2 separate regions of the Homo sapiens genome follow, and region 1 is linked to region 2. The links are contacts of gene promoters, found by promoter capture Hi-C in human tissues and cell types (Jung and others, 2019). All regions are on one chromosome and are shown on one strand. Each heading gives the region's core, a stretch centred on a gene start or on the middle of the fragment in contact. The rest is flanking DNA. Distances are from core to core; before and after follow the strand shown.

What was found. The method cuts DNA at HindIII sites, captures the fragments that hold promoters and counts their contacts. A contact is called where the count stands out against the background at its distance.
Region 1: a fragment that was not itself captured here is called in contact with the fragment with the promoter of PLA2G4F in region 2 in 2 of the 25 tissues and cell types used here (IMR-90 fibroblasts and pancreas).

The regions. Positions count from the first base shown.
Region 1 is chr15:41,996,691-42,003,850 of GRCh38, forward strand. PLA2G4E (phospholipase A2 group IVE) reads right to left here. Exons shown (of 20, transcript NM_001395548.1): 6 at 5,964-6,006; 7 at 4,467-4,530; 8 at 3,414-3,592; 9 at 3,227-3,310; 10 at 2,834-2,871; 11 at 434-569. PLA2G4E-AS1 (PLA2G4E antisense RNA 1) reads left to right here. Exons shown (of 4, transcript NR_120334.1): 4 at 449-2,404. Among named protein-coding and RNA genes, the nearest start is that of PLA2G4E, 21 kb to the right of the region's middle. The HindIII fragment of the contact is 8,280 bases long and covers 1-6,293 here.
Region 2 is chr15:42,153,589-42,161,496 of GRCh38, forward strand. PLA2G4F (phospholipase A2 group IVF) reads right to left here and starts at 3,048. Exons shown (of 20, transcript NM_213600.4): 1 at 2,851-3,048; 2 at 1,929-2,001; 3 at 734-870; 4 at 504-632; 5 at 32-72. The coding sequence starts at 2,961. It overlaps VPS39 (VPS39 subunit of HOPS complex), which reads right to left. Exons shown (of 25, transcript NM_015289.5): 25 at 5,113-7,241. The coding sequence ends at 7,166. RefSeq lists enhancers at 471-981, 2,773-3,488, 5,779-6,278. The HindIII fragment of the contact is 13,117 bases long and covers 1-5,958 here.

The sequences.
Region 1 (7,160 bases), core at 904-3,403, 160 kb before region 2:
GCGCTGTTATTTCTGGGAGTGTGTTTACCTGTGCGGATTTGAGAGGAGAGACAATTGAGGAAAGAAGGACCTAAGGCCTTTTGGGTGGAGGTGTGGGGTGCAGAAGGTGGTACAGCTTAAAATGTTTTCCTGGCTGGGGTGAGGAGGGCATTTTATCCCTGAGTAAGGCCCCTTTAGCCACAGCAGGAACTCTTAGTGCTTGGGAGGAGGCGCTGGGGCTCTGTCCTTTCTGTCTCCATTTTGCTCTCCCCTTCTCTTGTGAATATAAAACAGAATCACTTCCAGCACAGCTCTCACCAGGGCGCCTGTACCTCAGCAGTAAAAGCATCCATGGAGGTGGCGCCTGGGGTAGGGCAGGGCCTGGGTTGGCTGGGAGGGCATGGTGCTGGAAGGACCAGCTGGGCCCAGGCTGGCCACATCCCTGATTACCCACCTCGTCCTCCTGCAGGTCTTCCTCCAGCTGCAGCACCTGCTTCAGGGCCTTGGCCACCACGACCTTCCGCTTCTGCAGAAACTCCAGCTCTGCTGGGCACAGGCTGAAGCCCAGCCGCACGTCCAGTGTCTCAGGGCTGGAGGGAGAGAGGACCCTGTATTGGGCCTGCAGCCTCTACCTCCCTGGAGTAGACACAGCTTCAGGGTCCATTGGACCTAGGCTCAAAGCCTACTTCTGCCAGCGACCACTTCTGTGACCTTGGGTCTCCACTTTCCCATCTGTAAAGTGGGGCGAATCGTGCTGAACTCTCAGCACTGTCTTCAGCACTTAAAGAGATAACAAATGCAAAGCCCCCAAAGCCTTAGCTGGCACAATGCGAGCTGGTACTCAACAAAAGATAACTGTTGGCACTGTGTTAGGGACGCTTTGAGTCCTCTGTCTCCTCGGCCAGATCTGGAAAGTCCAGAAAGTCTTCCCCCAGGTGGCTTCTCTAGCCCAGGGCCAGGCATGGGTGACAAAAGGCGCTGAGATCATTTTGCCAAATCCCTCTGAACAAGGCCCCACGGTATGGACTCTTCTGTGCTAGGTAAACAAACTCCCTGTTCCTATGGAGCTCACGTTCTTCAATGAGCTCTTCCTGCTCCTAGAATAACAATTATTCTGTGTGTGTGTGCAATTGACAAAAACCATCCCATTCCTGATCTCATTGTGTCACCTCATAGTCTGCAGGCAGGTGGGGCAGGCACCTCTGTGACATGCACAATGCTTGTCCTCTTTTTTTTTTTTAATCACATCCCTGCCCCAAACAAGTCCAGGCTCCTGGCCTGGCATCCAAGACCCTGCCTGATCTTTCCAAGCTCACCTCAAACTACCCGCGAAACTTCTGGGTCAGGTCCCAGAGCTCCCAGAAGCAGTCCTGTTTCCGGGTCTTGGCACAGGCCCCTGCCTTCACCAGAAGTGTCTTCCCTTTGCCCACCTCCAGCCTGTGCATCCTCTGAGGCCCAGCTCCCCAGTGACTCCAGATGAATGTACCTTGACCATTTCCAACTGAGCCTTGGCTCACTGACAAAGCCACATCTCCTTGAAGGCTGGGCCTAGGAGATTTCCATCATGTCTCCTCTTTGTCCAGCACAGGGCTGCAGACATGGCTGTTAGAAAATAATTCTTTCTTTGGCCTCAACAGGGAATGAATAATAATAATACAACAACAATAATAACAATAACATTAGCTGACGTTTGCTGAGCATCCCACTTGCCAGATGGATTACTGAGTACTTCGCACGTGCTGTCTAGCTGGATCCTCAGAGCAACCCAGTGATGCACAGGATCCTTGTTATTCTCCCAATGTACAGATGAGGAAAACAGAGACTCAGTAAGGGCAAAGAGCTTTTCCAAGGGCAAATAGCTAATCAAACTGTCAATAGAAATCATGGCCACTTGATTTCTGACAATCAAGATTTCTGAAAACGATGTTGTTTTCAGCAGATGGTGCTGAGACATCTGGATATCCACATGCCAAAGAACGAGGTTGAGCCCCTCTTTTACACCATGTAGATTGATTACCTAAAAATTGATCATAGACCTAAATGTGAGAGCTAAAACTAAACAAGTCTTAGAAAAAAACATGGGAATATATTTTCAGGACTTTGGTCGGGCGCGGTGGCGCACGCTTGTAATCCCAGCACTTTGGGAAGCCGAGGAGGGTGGATCACTTGAGGTCAGGAGTTCGAGACCAGCTGGCCAATACGGTGAAACCCCGTCTCTACTGAAAATACAAAAATTAGCCAGGTGTAGAGGTGTGCATCTGTAATCCCAGCTACTGGGGAGGCTGAGGCAGGAGAATCGCTTAACCCAGGAGACAGAGGTTGCAGTGAGCTGAGATCACACCACTGCACTCCAGCCTGGGCGACAGTGAGACTCCATTTCAAAATAAAATAAAATAAAATAAAATAAAATAAAAATTTCAGGACATTGGATTAGGCAATGATTTCTGGTTTCTTAGATATGACACCAAAAGCACAAGTGACAAGATAAAAAAACAAATTTCCTCAAAAGTAAAGTCCTTTGTGCTTCAAAGGACACCAACAAGAATGTGAAAAGATACGCCATAGAATAAGAGGAAATATTTGCAAATCATATATCTGACAAGGGATTTGTATCTGGCATATGTAAAGCACTCTTACAACTTAACAATAAAAAAACACAAATAACCCACATAAAAAGTGGGCAAAGGATCTAATAGAAATGTCTCCAAAGAAGATGATATGCCAGCCAGCCCATGGAAAGATGTTCAACATCATTAGCCATAGGGGAAATGCAAATCAAAACCACAGTGAGATACCACTGCACACCCACTGCTATGAATAAGTGAGAGGCACGGACAGAATGCGGGTACTATACCAGGGTGTAGACTTCATGTGTAATTCATAACTCTCACCCTGGGGAGGGAAAGATGAAAAGCTTGTCAGAGGTGACAATTCAGAGCCAAGTGATCCCAGATCCACACTGTCCACCCAGACCCCACTCAGCACACACGTGCACACACAGGCGCTCCATCCCTGCCTCTCTCTTCTGGACACAATCTCCCCACCATCTTCAACTCAGCCTCCATACACTCTTTGGACCACACTGTAGCTCATCAGTCTCCTGCCCCACAAGACTCCTCCATCCTGCCTGAGAGAGACCCTCACGAGTCACATTCTCTCTTGTACCTCCCCAGGCTCTCCCCACCTCCCTACCACAGGAGCTCCAGGGGAAGTAAGTCAGGGGCCCTTCCCAGACTCAGGCACTCACCACAGGCAGGGTCATCACCTGACCATCGGAAAGGCAGTCGAGGGGCTGGCTGATGGGGCCCTTCTTGCGAGAGCGGCAGCAAAGCTGGAGGGATGGGTGGGTTCTGTGAGAGGGGCTGGGGAGCTCCTCTGGCACCCCCCACCTGTCCCAGTCCCCCACACCTCCCCCAGTGTCAGCCGCCTTGTACCCCACAGCTCCAGTGACTCTTGGGCACTTCCACGTGCACCTGGGACTGGAAGTACTTGGGGTAGTGGAAGCAGGCAGCGGTTTGGAAGCAGGCAGAGGTTGGGCAGCAGGGTTCCAAGCAGGGCCGGACACGCTGGGTGTTCTCAAAGGATTCGTTCACCATCACCAGGAGGTCCTTCACTGGGAGAGAGGACAAGAGGGTGAGACCCTGGGAGCCTCTCACTACCCACCTGCAACTTGGTCCAGCAAAAAACCTATTTGGAGGTATCCAGGAGGAGTTTAGAATCACCTGGGGCACCAGTTCAAATTCCCCAGAGATTCTCAATCTATAGGGTAGGGCAGGGCCCAGGAACCTGCATTTTAATGAGGTTTATGAGGATGCAGACAAACATAGTCCCCAGAAAACCCTTTGAGATGCTGAGAAGGTCCTCAGGACCAGTCCTTGGCTCAGCTTTGCCAGAAGATGCCCCAAAGTAACCTGCCCACTGTAGAGGAGGCAGACCCTCCGCACACTGTCGCTTTTGATGTAGACGCCTCTTCTGTCCTCCCTCCCTCCCTCATGTCTGGTAGCCTTGCATGGGCAACATGGGGTGGGGTGGGGAGTAGGGTAGGGGTATGGTATTCATGGATCTCTTAGGTCTCTGCCAGCTATAAAGTGCTAGGACCCTCTGTGAGCTGTGGTCTGCCTAGAGGAAGGGGCATAGTTAGAGGGGTCCTGGGCTTCGGGTGCTGACCACCTCACTGACCTAGGCAATCTGAGGTCCTGGCATGGCACAGCACAGACAAGCGTGGATAGAGGGAGCAGCACTGGGACCCCAGACCTGAGATACTCCAAGGTTATGTGGGTGCTTGGGCGAACACGCCCTTTACAGAGCAGGATGGGAGGCCAGGGGCTCAGGACCCCTGGGGGTGAGATGATTCTGAGGGGTTTCAGCCGAGCTTTTGGTCCCCCTGAGCCCAGGGAAGCCCTGGACTAGGTGGAGTCTGATGCTGATGGGATTTGGAAGCAGCTCCCCCTTGTCCCCCAGTAGGCAGAAAAGGCAAAACAGCTCACTTTTCTCCCTCTTCCTCCGCCTCCTGGATTGTGCATGAACCTCCAGGCAGGAGACTTGTCGAGACTGTAAAAAACAAAGGAGGGTCACAGAGTGTCTGAGCACCAGCCACCTCCTTGCTCTTCCAGGCTGAAGGGAGATGAGGGACCAGAGGATACATTCAGCATTGGTCTGACTGGGCTGATGCTGGGGAATGCAGAATGTGTTGACCACATTTTCTGAACCCAATCAAGGCATGCCATCTCACTCAGAGATAGGATACTTGACCACGAAGCTGTCCCAGGAGGTCTAGGACCCACGGTCACAGTTTACTAGGGGTCAGGTCCTCAGCTGCAGGTCGGGAATCTGACCTGAGGGAATGTTCAGCTCTGGGCTTTCAAAGTGAGGGCTTCCGACAAAATAGCCTTGTCAAGATGCTGAGGCAGATCATACTCCTTTGCCACACATTCCCAAAGACTCTTCTTTTTGAGGGAGAGGTCTCCTTGAACCCTGAGGCACTGGATGCATTTAATTAAAATAGCTGTACCAACAGCCGAAATATGAATTTTTGTTTTTGGCACAGGGTCTCACTCTGTCACCCAGGCTGGAGTGCAGTGTCATAATCACAGCTCACTGCAGCCTTGACCTCCTGGGCTCAAGCGATCCTCCCACCTCAGCCTCCTGAGTAGCTGGGACTACAGACACATGCTACCATGCCTGGCTAATTTTTGTATTTTTTTGTAGGGATGGAGTTTCACTATGTTGCCCAGACTTGTTTTGAACTCCCGGGCTCAAGTGATCCCCCAACCTTGGCCTCCCAAAGTGCTGGGATTATAGGCATGAGCCACCATGACTGGCTATGAAACAATTTTTAATACAGAAATTGTGCTTGTAGGCCAGGCACAGTAGCTCACACCTGTAATCCCAGTACTTTGGGAGGCTGAGGCTGGCAGATCGCTTGAGCTCAGGAGTTTGAAACCAGCCTGGGCAACATGTTGAAACCCCGTCTCTACAAAATACAAAATAATAGCTGGGGGTGGTGGCGTGCTTGAGCACGGGAGGCAGAGGTTGCAGTGATCCGAGATCGCAGCACTGCACTCCAGCCTGGGCGACAGAGTGAGACCTTGTCTCAAAAAAAAAAAAAAAAAAAAAAAGGTAAACTGTGCTTGTAGAATTACTGGGGTTGTGGGGTACAGGACCAAGACTGAGTCTGAGAGGAGGCTGCACTTAGTGGGTTGTTTTATTGGGGAGGCTCTTAAGGGGAAGGGTCACTTTTGGGATATGAAGTGCTCGGCCAGGGTGATGTCCCAGCTACCTCCTCCCTCTGTACAGAAGCCCCAGCTCGTGCCCCAGTGCTGCCTGTGCCCCATTTGGCTGGCCTCGTTTAGTCTAACTCCTGCAGAGGTCAGGATAGGACAGAGACCAAGCTGGGCCCACTGTTTTCTCCCTTGGTCCTGTTCCCCTGAGAGCAGCAGCCAGCCGTGGCCTCTGGAGCTACAGGAACCCAGGAAGATAATTACCACCAGCACGCCATTGGTGACGAGGGTCTCAGGTGGAGAGGGACTGAAAAACAAAAGGAGAACTCCTGGTCAATTCTAGCATTCTTGACTGGTTTCTTCTAATGGCGACAAAGGGAATAAATAGGGTCAATAACAAAATATCAGAGCCTTCTTTGTTCTCATAAAAAATACTAGCTTCGGAAACCTTAGCCTTATAGGTTGTCAGGGAGGAAACTGGCCTACATTTGAAACAGAATGTCCAGGAAAAAAATAGATTTATAGGTTAGAAGAGTAGGAGAGTTCTATTTTTTTGAAAGGATAACTGTTTTTTATGTCTAACCAGATGCAAATGCATGGGGTTAGAAGAATAAATAGGTTGTAAGAAATGGCTGCAACCTGCCAGCTAGAGCAGACATAAACAGTTTTGGTAGTGAAAATGATCCATTCTCCATTCTGTGCTTTATCTAACTTATGCATTTAACAGTCTGACCCAGCTGAGAGGGTGAATGTTAAATGCCCTTGTGTTATAAAGTTGAGAACATAAGCCTCCAAGGTTTCAATTAGCCTGGCAGAGTCCACAGCATCCCTTGTCAAAATTAAGCCCAAGGTGACTGTGTCTCCAGATCAACTTTATTGTTGTTGTTGAGAAGGAGTCTCGCTCTGTCGCCCAGGCTGGAGTGCAATGGCACGGTCTGGGCTCACTGCAACCTCCACCTCCTGGGTTCAAGTGATTCTCCTGCCTCAGCCTCCTGAGTAGCTGGGATGACAGGTGCATGCTGCCATGCCCAACTAATTTTTTGTATTTTAGTAGAGACGGGGTTTCACCAGATCAACTCTTATTACCAAGCATGACATGTTTCATTTTGCAAGCCACTTTCTAATTCAGCCTAGGAGTTTTCCCCGCCCTCTAAAAATTCTGTCAAATCAAGAATTGGAGGGGAGAGCTTCGATTTTCTTCAATGTTAAGTAAATAACGTTGATTTTAATTTGCCAATCAGCTGTTGATGGGAAGTAAGTTCCCTCACATAGTTTGAAGATCCCCTAGGCAGAGGATTCTCCAAGTGGCAGTTGACGAGCCCTCTTGTCCTGTCTCCCACCTGTCATCCTCCTTCTGTTCCCGGGCTCATCACAAGCATAGGGGGCTCAGCCCTGCCAGGTGAAGAAGAGGGAGGAGTGAGGAACAAGCTGCCCAGTTACAGGGCACTCTGCCCGGCCTGA
Region 2 (7,908 bases), core at 1,798-4,297:
CTCTGAGGGCGTTGGCTCTACCAGAACTCACCTCTTCTCCAGAACAAATTCCACCTGCAGCTCTTGTGAATCCTACATGGAGGGGGAGGGAGCACCAATTTTTTCAAGGCTCCAAAAGCCTCCAGAGCTGTTCCTGCCTGCCAGCCCTGCTTGGCTCCAGGGGCTAGAAGGGGAGACTGGCATTGTGGCTTGTCATGGACATAGGAGGGGCAGTGGTATCTCCATGGAGAACCTCATTTATTCCAAAATATGTGTCAGGTGCTGTTCTAGACATTGATAATTCAGCTGTGACTGAGGGAACACACAGCCCTCAAGGAGCTCATATTTTGGTTTCATGCAAGGAAGATGTATTAGAGGGAGACCTTTATAGGGTCAGGGCTGCGGGGTGGAGGAAGGTCTGCCTTGGAGGCTTGGCCTGTGCCGACCAGAGCCCCCTCTTTGGTGGCCCTGTGCTGGGCCTCCCCTCCTCCAGCTGGGCTCTCCGCCAGCACTGGTGGGCTCACCTGGTGGTTGAGTGGGAAGGTGTGTTTGTGAGGTTGGCCACACTTGAGGCTTCTCAGGTCAAACAGGAGCAGAGAGAGCTGGTCGCTGCCCAGGATGTCCTTGTCATAGAGGGTGAGCTCCAGGACGTTCTGGGGACAAGGCAGGCAGGAGGTCCGAGCATGAGGTAGGACAGGAGGGTAGCTGCCTGAGGAGTTCCCCTCCCGCAGCCTGGCCCCTGGCTGGCCCTCACCTTCACAGCACCATGGATCTGGTAGTGGAAGGTCTCATTCCACTCGGGGTCACTGCAGTTGGCCACTATCCTAGTCTGGGCAGGGCTTGGGGACGCCGTGGGCAGCCACAGTTGCACATAGCAGTCGGCTTTGGACACTGCAGGTAGGACAGGGAGGGGCCGGGGCCTCAAGCTCTCATTGCTGAAAAGGTTTCCTTGGGGAGGCTAGGGCAGAAGGGGAAGGAGCAGAGTGGGGAGGGGAAGCCGCCCACGTGGCATGGTGGGGTGAGGAGGTGGAGGGAGAGCCTTGATGTCTTTCACTCCATCTTGATTCCACACACCTCCCATTCACCTGAACAGAAATCCTGCGGCAGCCAGTTGGAAAGATCCCATGGCAGCACAGACCATTAATTCCAGCTACTGCCTGATTCAGGCAGTAAAATCCCCTCCCTGTGTGGGCACTGGCATGGAAAGCTCCCTGAGAGCGCGTGCTGACTTGTAGCCACAGCGGGCCTCACACTGTCACCCAGGGCGGCACTCCCAGGCACAGGGAGGAGGCCGAGTCTGCACAGCTGTCCCCTCCAGCCCTGCCTGCCCTCACCTCCATGGTCAGCACCAGTCCCTCCACCTACTCTTGCACTCACACACACACTCTTGCACTCATGCACGCACACATGTGTAGTACTCTCACACTGGCACACACACACGTATATACACACACTCGTACTCAGTCACACACACTGGCACTCACTGTCATGTATACAGACACACATACACAACACGCACACACGTATACACACATACACACTCACGTTCACACACACTCGCACTCACATATATACACTTCCACTCACACTTGCACTCACACACTCCTACATGTGTATACACACTCGCAGTCACATTTGCACTCACACACTCGCTCACACTTGCACGCATGTATATACACACTCGTGTTCCCACACACTCGCACTCACATGTTTACACCACATATACACGCACTCACACACACGTATACACATGTACTCACACTTGCACTCACACATACTTGCACAGATGCCTACACGTATACTCACACATGTATACACACATGCACTCTCACTTGTACTCACCCATGTATACTCTTACACACACACACTCTCTGTTAGCCAGCCTGAGCTGAGCTCTGAGGAAGCCGCAGGGAAAGGACAGAGAGAAGGATGGAGATGGGGTCACTCACGCAGGTCTGTGCCCCGGATGTTTGTGGCCCTCAGCACCTTCACCTGGAGGTCATAGTATGGGTAGGTTTCCCGCTGCAATAACAGAACTCCAGGGACTCAGTCAGCTAGTGTGAGCCTGGTCCCTCGCCCCATTGTTCCCCTCGTCCCATCATGGAGCAGCAACCTGGCATAGGGTCACTGACGTCTCTGTGCCGGGGAGCAGGGAGACCTTGGCGGGTCCCAGGCATTGGGAGTTCAGCACCTTCGTGATGTGTCTGGACCCTGGAACCCATCCGGTCTGGGTTCAAATCTAAATCCAGCACGGACTCACTGAACTAACGATGGCTGTCACGCACCACACACCTGCAGCTCCCCTCAGACGCTCGCGCCCCCACTCTAGCTTGGGAGCAGCTGTGAGAGCTGTGCTAATGTTGTGCTTGAGAAGATTAAATATTAAAAGAGAAAACTGTGACACCCCCTCCCTTGCTTGCTCCCTGACAGAGGCTCAAAGACCGTCTAGGAGGCAGCGAGCAGGTGAGCGGAAGCCGAGAGTCACCGGCCGGCCGGTACCGGTCTGACGAGTCACCGAGCAGATTGCAGCTGGGCTTAGGAGAGATAACATCAGCATGCTGCCTACTGGGAGGGAAACTCTCCCCTCACAACCCCACCAGCTCCGTGGACTCTACAGCCAGGCTCGCGCATCCTTGGTGAAAGCCAACCCACCCCAGACAAGTGTCAAGTGAACTAACCCTCCATTTCCTAATCGGAGGGAGCTATTTTTAAGAGCCAAGGTCTAATTTAAGCTCTGCCAGGTCATCTAGAATAAACAGGTCCCACCCCAACTCAAAACCCAGGGCTGGGGCTGGTCTCAGTCTTCACAGGGCACTGCAGCTCCCAGGACTCCCCCAGTCCGGGTTTCCCAGGTAATCTCAGGTACGTTACCCGCCAGTGCCTCCACAGAGGGCCCCTCTTCTCTCTCTTCTGAAGCAGCACTGCCCCCAGGAGGGGCAGCATCTTGTCTGCCAGCCACCTTGGCCAGAGTGCCCAAAGCATGGCTGGGCAGCCCGGGCCCCAGCAGGGAACCCTGCCTGCGCTCCTCTGGTTGCACAAACTGCTGGCTCAGGTGTGACAGGCAGCACTGAGTTGGGAGGGTGGAGCTGCCTGCTCTGCAGAGAACTCAGGCTGGATGGCCTGCTGGAGGTGGAGTTTGACATGCTCCAGGAAGTGACTGGAGCTTAATTTCCCCAGGCAGGAGGCAGCTCAGTCCCTCTCCAAGAGACTCTTGGGGTCTCTGGTTAGCACTCTTGTTCCCAAACCCAGCGCCCTGGTTATCACTGGGCTGTTTGTGAAAAATAGACACCGGAGCTATTTCCAACAAGACCTCTAGGTGAAGCTGGCACAGCTGGCCCAGAGACCAGCTGGCAAGTGCAAATCAGGGAAGAGTCTCCTCCAGCTGTGGAAAAGGCCTGAAACTAGCCACCCTTCAAGTCCCACCTTCCCTGCGGCTCTTAAGCTGAAGCCTAGAAATCTCTGCTTCAGTGTTTCATCTGGGATCAAAGATGTTTCTCTCTTTATATATATTTTCTAATTATACTTTAAGTTCTACGGTACATGTGCACAACGTGCAGGTTTGTTACATGTGTATACATGTGCCATATTGGTGTGCTGCACCCATTAACTCGTCATTTACATTAGGTATTTCTCCTAATGCTATCCCTCCCCCATGCCCCCTGCCCCCCGACATGCCCCGGTGTGTGATGTTCCCCGCCCTGTGTCTAAGTGTTCTCATTGTTCAATTCCCACCTATGAGTGAGAACATGTGGTGTTTGGTTTTCTGTCCTTGCGATAGTTTGCTCAGAATGATGGTTTCCAGCTTCATCCATGTCCCTACAAAGGACATGAACTCATCAAAGATGTTTTTAATCTCTCCTGACCACCCTCATTAATTCGCCAAACACCAAGAGCCTGGTGGGTGCCAGACCTGTGCTAGGCCCAGAAACGCAAAGGTGACAGAGGTGAGGCGGGCCCATCCACATCCTGGAGAAATTCAGTCTCATGACTCCCTGTGGCTTTGGCCCAGGCTCGCTTCCTGGGTCAGTGTACAGTGTCCAGGTACAGACAGGCATATGGGCAGGGGGTTATAAATAAGGACAGGCCAAACAACAAGTCTACGTATCCTTCAGCGACCAGATATACAGGCTTTAGCATTCTCTTTGGCCATCGTAGGCCTTAGGCTGCAGATGGATGTGATGTTCGCTCTTCTGTGGACCACAACCATCAAGGTGGCTGAGACAGGCACAGTCTCCAGGAAGAGTGAGGATCTCGGGGGCCGTGAACTGTGGGAGGGAGAGAATTTCTGTCCCTCAACTAAGATTCAGTCATCTCCACTCTTCCCAAGGCCTAGAGTCACAGGCTGAAAAATACAACATCCAAAAAAGATGTGATTCAACTCCAAAATGAACCGAATGGGCAAGTTCAGACCAGAAACTCCCCCCAAAAAAGGAATGTGTGACTGCCAGTGACCAGGCCCCAAAGAAGGGCCTGTTTCTGCTTTATTTGGATTGTGAAGCCAAGACTTGGCCTGGGCTCTAAGAAATGAGAGTCTGGCAGTTGGTGATAGCTGTGAATGTATGCAGGGGACCTGCGGATCCATACAAGAGGAGAGGGCACAGAGCTAGCTGGGGGCAGAACCAGGCTGGGGCTCTAGCTCCTGACTGATGTGTCTTTCTGGCTGTACCATCCTCTTCTGGAAGTCATCGGCCCCACTGCACAATAAAGTCATTGCCCCTAGTGCCAGATGGGACAGAGACAACAAGGACTACATTTTCTCTTTGGAGTTGGCCAAAGTGAACCAACACTTCTCCACTTCCCAAACACCTCTGCGTCCCTCCATCCCAATTCCTTCATCATGGGCTGCAGGAAGAGGCACCAGGTGCTACTACATGATGGGGGAAAACACTTGGATCTCCCAGACGCCAGTGTGTCCCGCAGAATTCTGTAATGATGGATGTGTTCCGTATCTGTGCTGCTGACTCATCAGCCATGACCACACTGGCTGTACCACGTGGCATTTGTAATGCAAGTATTATATTCATTTTTTCTTGGTCACTAATTGGCTTATTCTTCTAAGTTCTTTGCTAAACTACTATCTTTTCATTGTTATTTTCATCAAACTCCACGGGAGGGAGAAATAAGAGACCCAGATAGGCTTGGTTTCTTGCTTTATTAGGTTTATTATAAGGAGCAGTGATGAGATCTTTATCAGTCCTCACTACAAAGCTTTCATCTCCAGCCTTCTCCATAGCTCTGTGGAGGGCAGAGAGTTGAGGGAAGGAAGAATGGAGCTTGGGAGCATGGGATCATGTATGTATACCAGGAAAGAAAACACACATTCTTTATTCTATTGCTTCAAAGACAGTTTGTGAGAATGGAAGATAACAAGCACAGCTGGCCAGGAAGGCAGGGCACACATGGCAGGTCAAGTTCCTGCTATCCAGGGAGGTGGCCCAGAGCTTCCCTGCTGCTCCTGGAGGAAGCAGAGTCCAAGCTGGCCCAGATGAGGCCCCGGGCAGCACTGCTTCTGTGTGGGTATGGCCAGTCGGGACGTGGCGCCACACACTGCTCCTCCGAACTCTGGTGAAGGGCTGCCCAGCCTCACAGGCCTGAGCAGAGTCTCCCACATCTGCGAATGGGGCCAATGGCACTCACTGTCTCTTCAGGCCCCCACGGACGGCATGCCTGGGGAAGCCTAGTCTACTTACCATCAGCACGTTGATCTGTCACACAGCATGGAGCCATAGTTTACAAAGGACCACGGCAGGTCAAGGACAGGCCACTAAAACTGTTGGTGCTGGGCACCATCACCCACCCTCACCACCATCAAAGACACTGGTGCAGTGAGACTTCGAGTCTGCAAAAACCCCGGGGAGGACAGGAGGCAGGGCCACTCTCCCTGTGTGTCATCAGCCTGCAGTGCCTGAAACTCCAGCCTGTGCACCTCTGGCAGGATGCCCCACACTGCTCCACAGGTTTGGCGGTGAGTTATTTTTAAACCAGCGTCCTGCTGTTCTTGCCCCCCGCGTCCCCTCTGCTGTGCCTAAACACCTCTCAGGAACACTTGGCAGCACGCCATTGTCAGTTCCAGGTCCACTCATCCCCTGCGTGTTGCCGGGACCCACCTTCCTGCGCTATCCCAGCACAACTCTCCAACCACACCATTGCTGAACAAAGCTGGGGAGTGACGGCCAGGGCAGGCTGTAAGGCAAGTGAATGGAAACTGGCTGGAAAAAGAGAAAGGGCCCAGAGCACAAAATCGCCACGCACAAAGACTAAGCCAGCCTGCCTGAGTGTCTGGTGAGCGAAGACGGAGCAGGCACCTCTGTGGGAACATGTATCTAGGGATCACGCATACCCCAGACAGGGCAGGCCCATCCTCAGGAGCTGCAGTCACACTCAGCCCGGCCTGAGGCAAGGGATGCAGGGCCTTGCCTAGGCAGAGAATGATGCTCTCCGAGGCATCTAGGCATGGAGTGTATGGCCAAAGAGGGTCTATTTACAACATACCTGACAATCAACTAGCACTGTATTCCTAGAACTGAGACCCCTTGCTTCTCATCTTACCTTGCTTAAATATTAGTTATTCCCAGAGTCAGGGAAGTGGGAGAGAAAGCCTGGGTAGGGCAGTGAGGGAAGTGATAAATGGTGAGAAAGAAAAGGAGACTGAAAACTAACAGGGCGGCTACCGAGGGGTGCAGGGCACAGTTACCATGGAGACGTAAAACACTACACAGAATGCGAGCCATCGGGTCCATGCGGCCAGAAGCTTGAGTGCTGTTCTCTCATGGAACTCTCCAGTGAGCCATGCTGAGCGGTCCTTGTGAAGTCATGTACTTAATAGAAAAGCCCTTGATGAACAACCCCATGGTTACAAACACTTGTGACAAGTTTCCTTGTTCAGGTGACTGGTGTGCAAAGGCAAGATGGTGCACATCCTCCTGACCAAGCAGGTACTGAATTCTCTGGAATTGCCCACAACATAATGGTATAAGGTATAACTAATCTCTTTTCCCATTAAAAAGCTGGCAATGCCAGACCATGAGTCTAATTAATTCAGAGTTGTTCCAGGGCACAAGATAGCCAGTAATGTCCAAATGGGGAGCCTTGTGGTGGTGGCAGCCAGGATTCCTAAGGCCAGGTGCTCCTTCACCTCTCTGGGAGAGCCAAGCTGTCCATCCGCTGGATCCCCAGGATGCTGGGCTCAAGTGTCAGCTGGGTTTACCTCTTTGGAACAGAAGTAATGGACGACCACTCCATTGGGGTATCTTGCAAATGCACTGCAGGGAAGAAAATGGCTTGGGAGTGAGGACTGCTTCTAAGTGACCACTTCTCTGGCAGCGGCACCTCCTACAGAAGAGGCACATTGCTGGGGGGCCATTCCAAAAGCAGCCCACCCAAACCTCAAAGAACAGCCTGCCTGAGGGGCTCTGGATTTCTGTAGCCATCATCTCTGTCAAATAACCAAACAGAGGATGAGGTGCACACAGTTAAGAGTGCATGGGGTATTTTTTTATTATGCAAAACACAAGGCATATTAAAGATGGGCAGTGCACCAGCCCAAAGCTCAGCCCTGGCTTCCTGAGAGCCAACAATGTTCATCAGAACAGGTTTCAGGCTAATTCTGAAAAGGACGGCGAGTTTGTCTTTCTAAAGAAAAATATTTTTCCAGCTACATAAGAGACAAATCACTCTCCTTTGAAGAAAAGGGGACTAACTAGAGTATATGTCTTAACACAGTATGAGTCTGGCTCAGGATCCTACTTGAGTCACAATGCAGTAGCTTGAAAGATCTTTTTCTTCCTTCACTGGATCTTCCTTATAAGAACTTTCTGCAGACCTACATCTCTTGGGCACCCACTATATCAGGTTCTAGCTTCAAGAGGGGAAGAGTTTTATGGACAAGAATCCAACAGCTCCATACCATACATTGCAGGTCTTTAAATT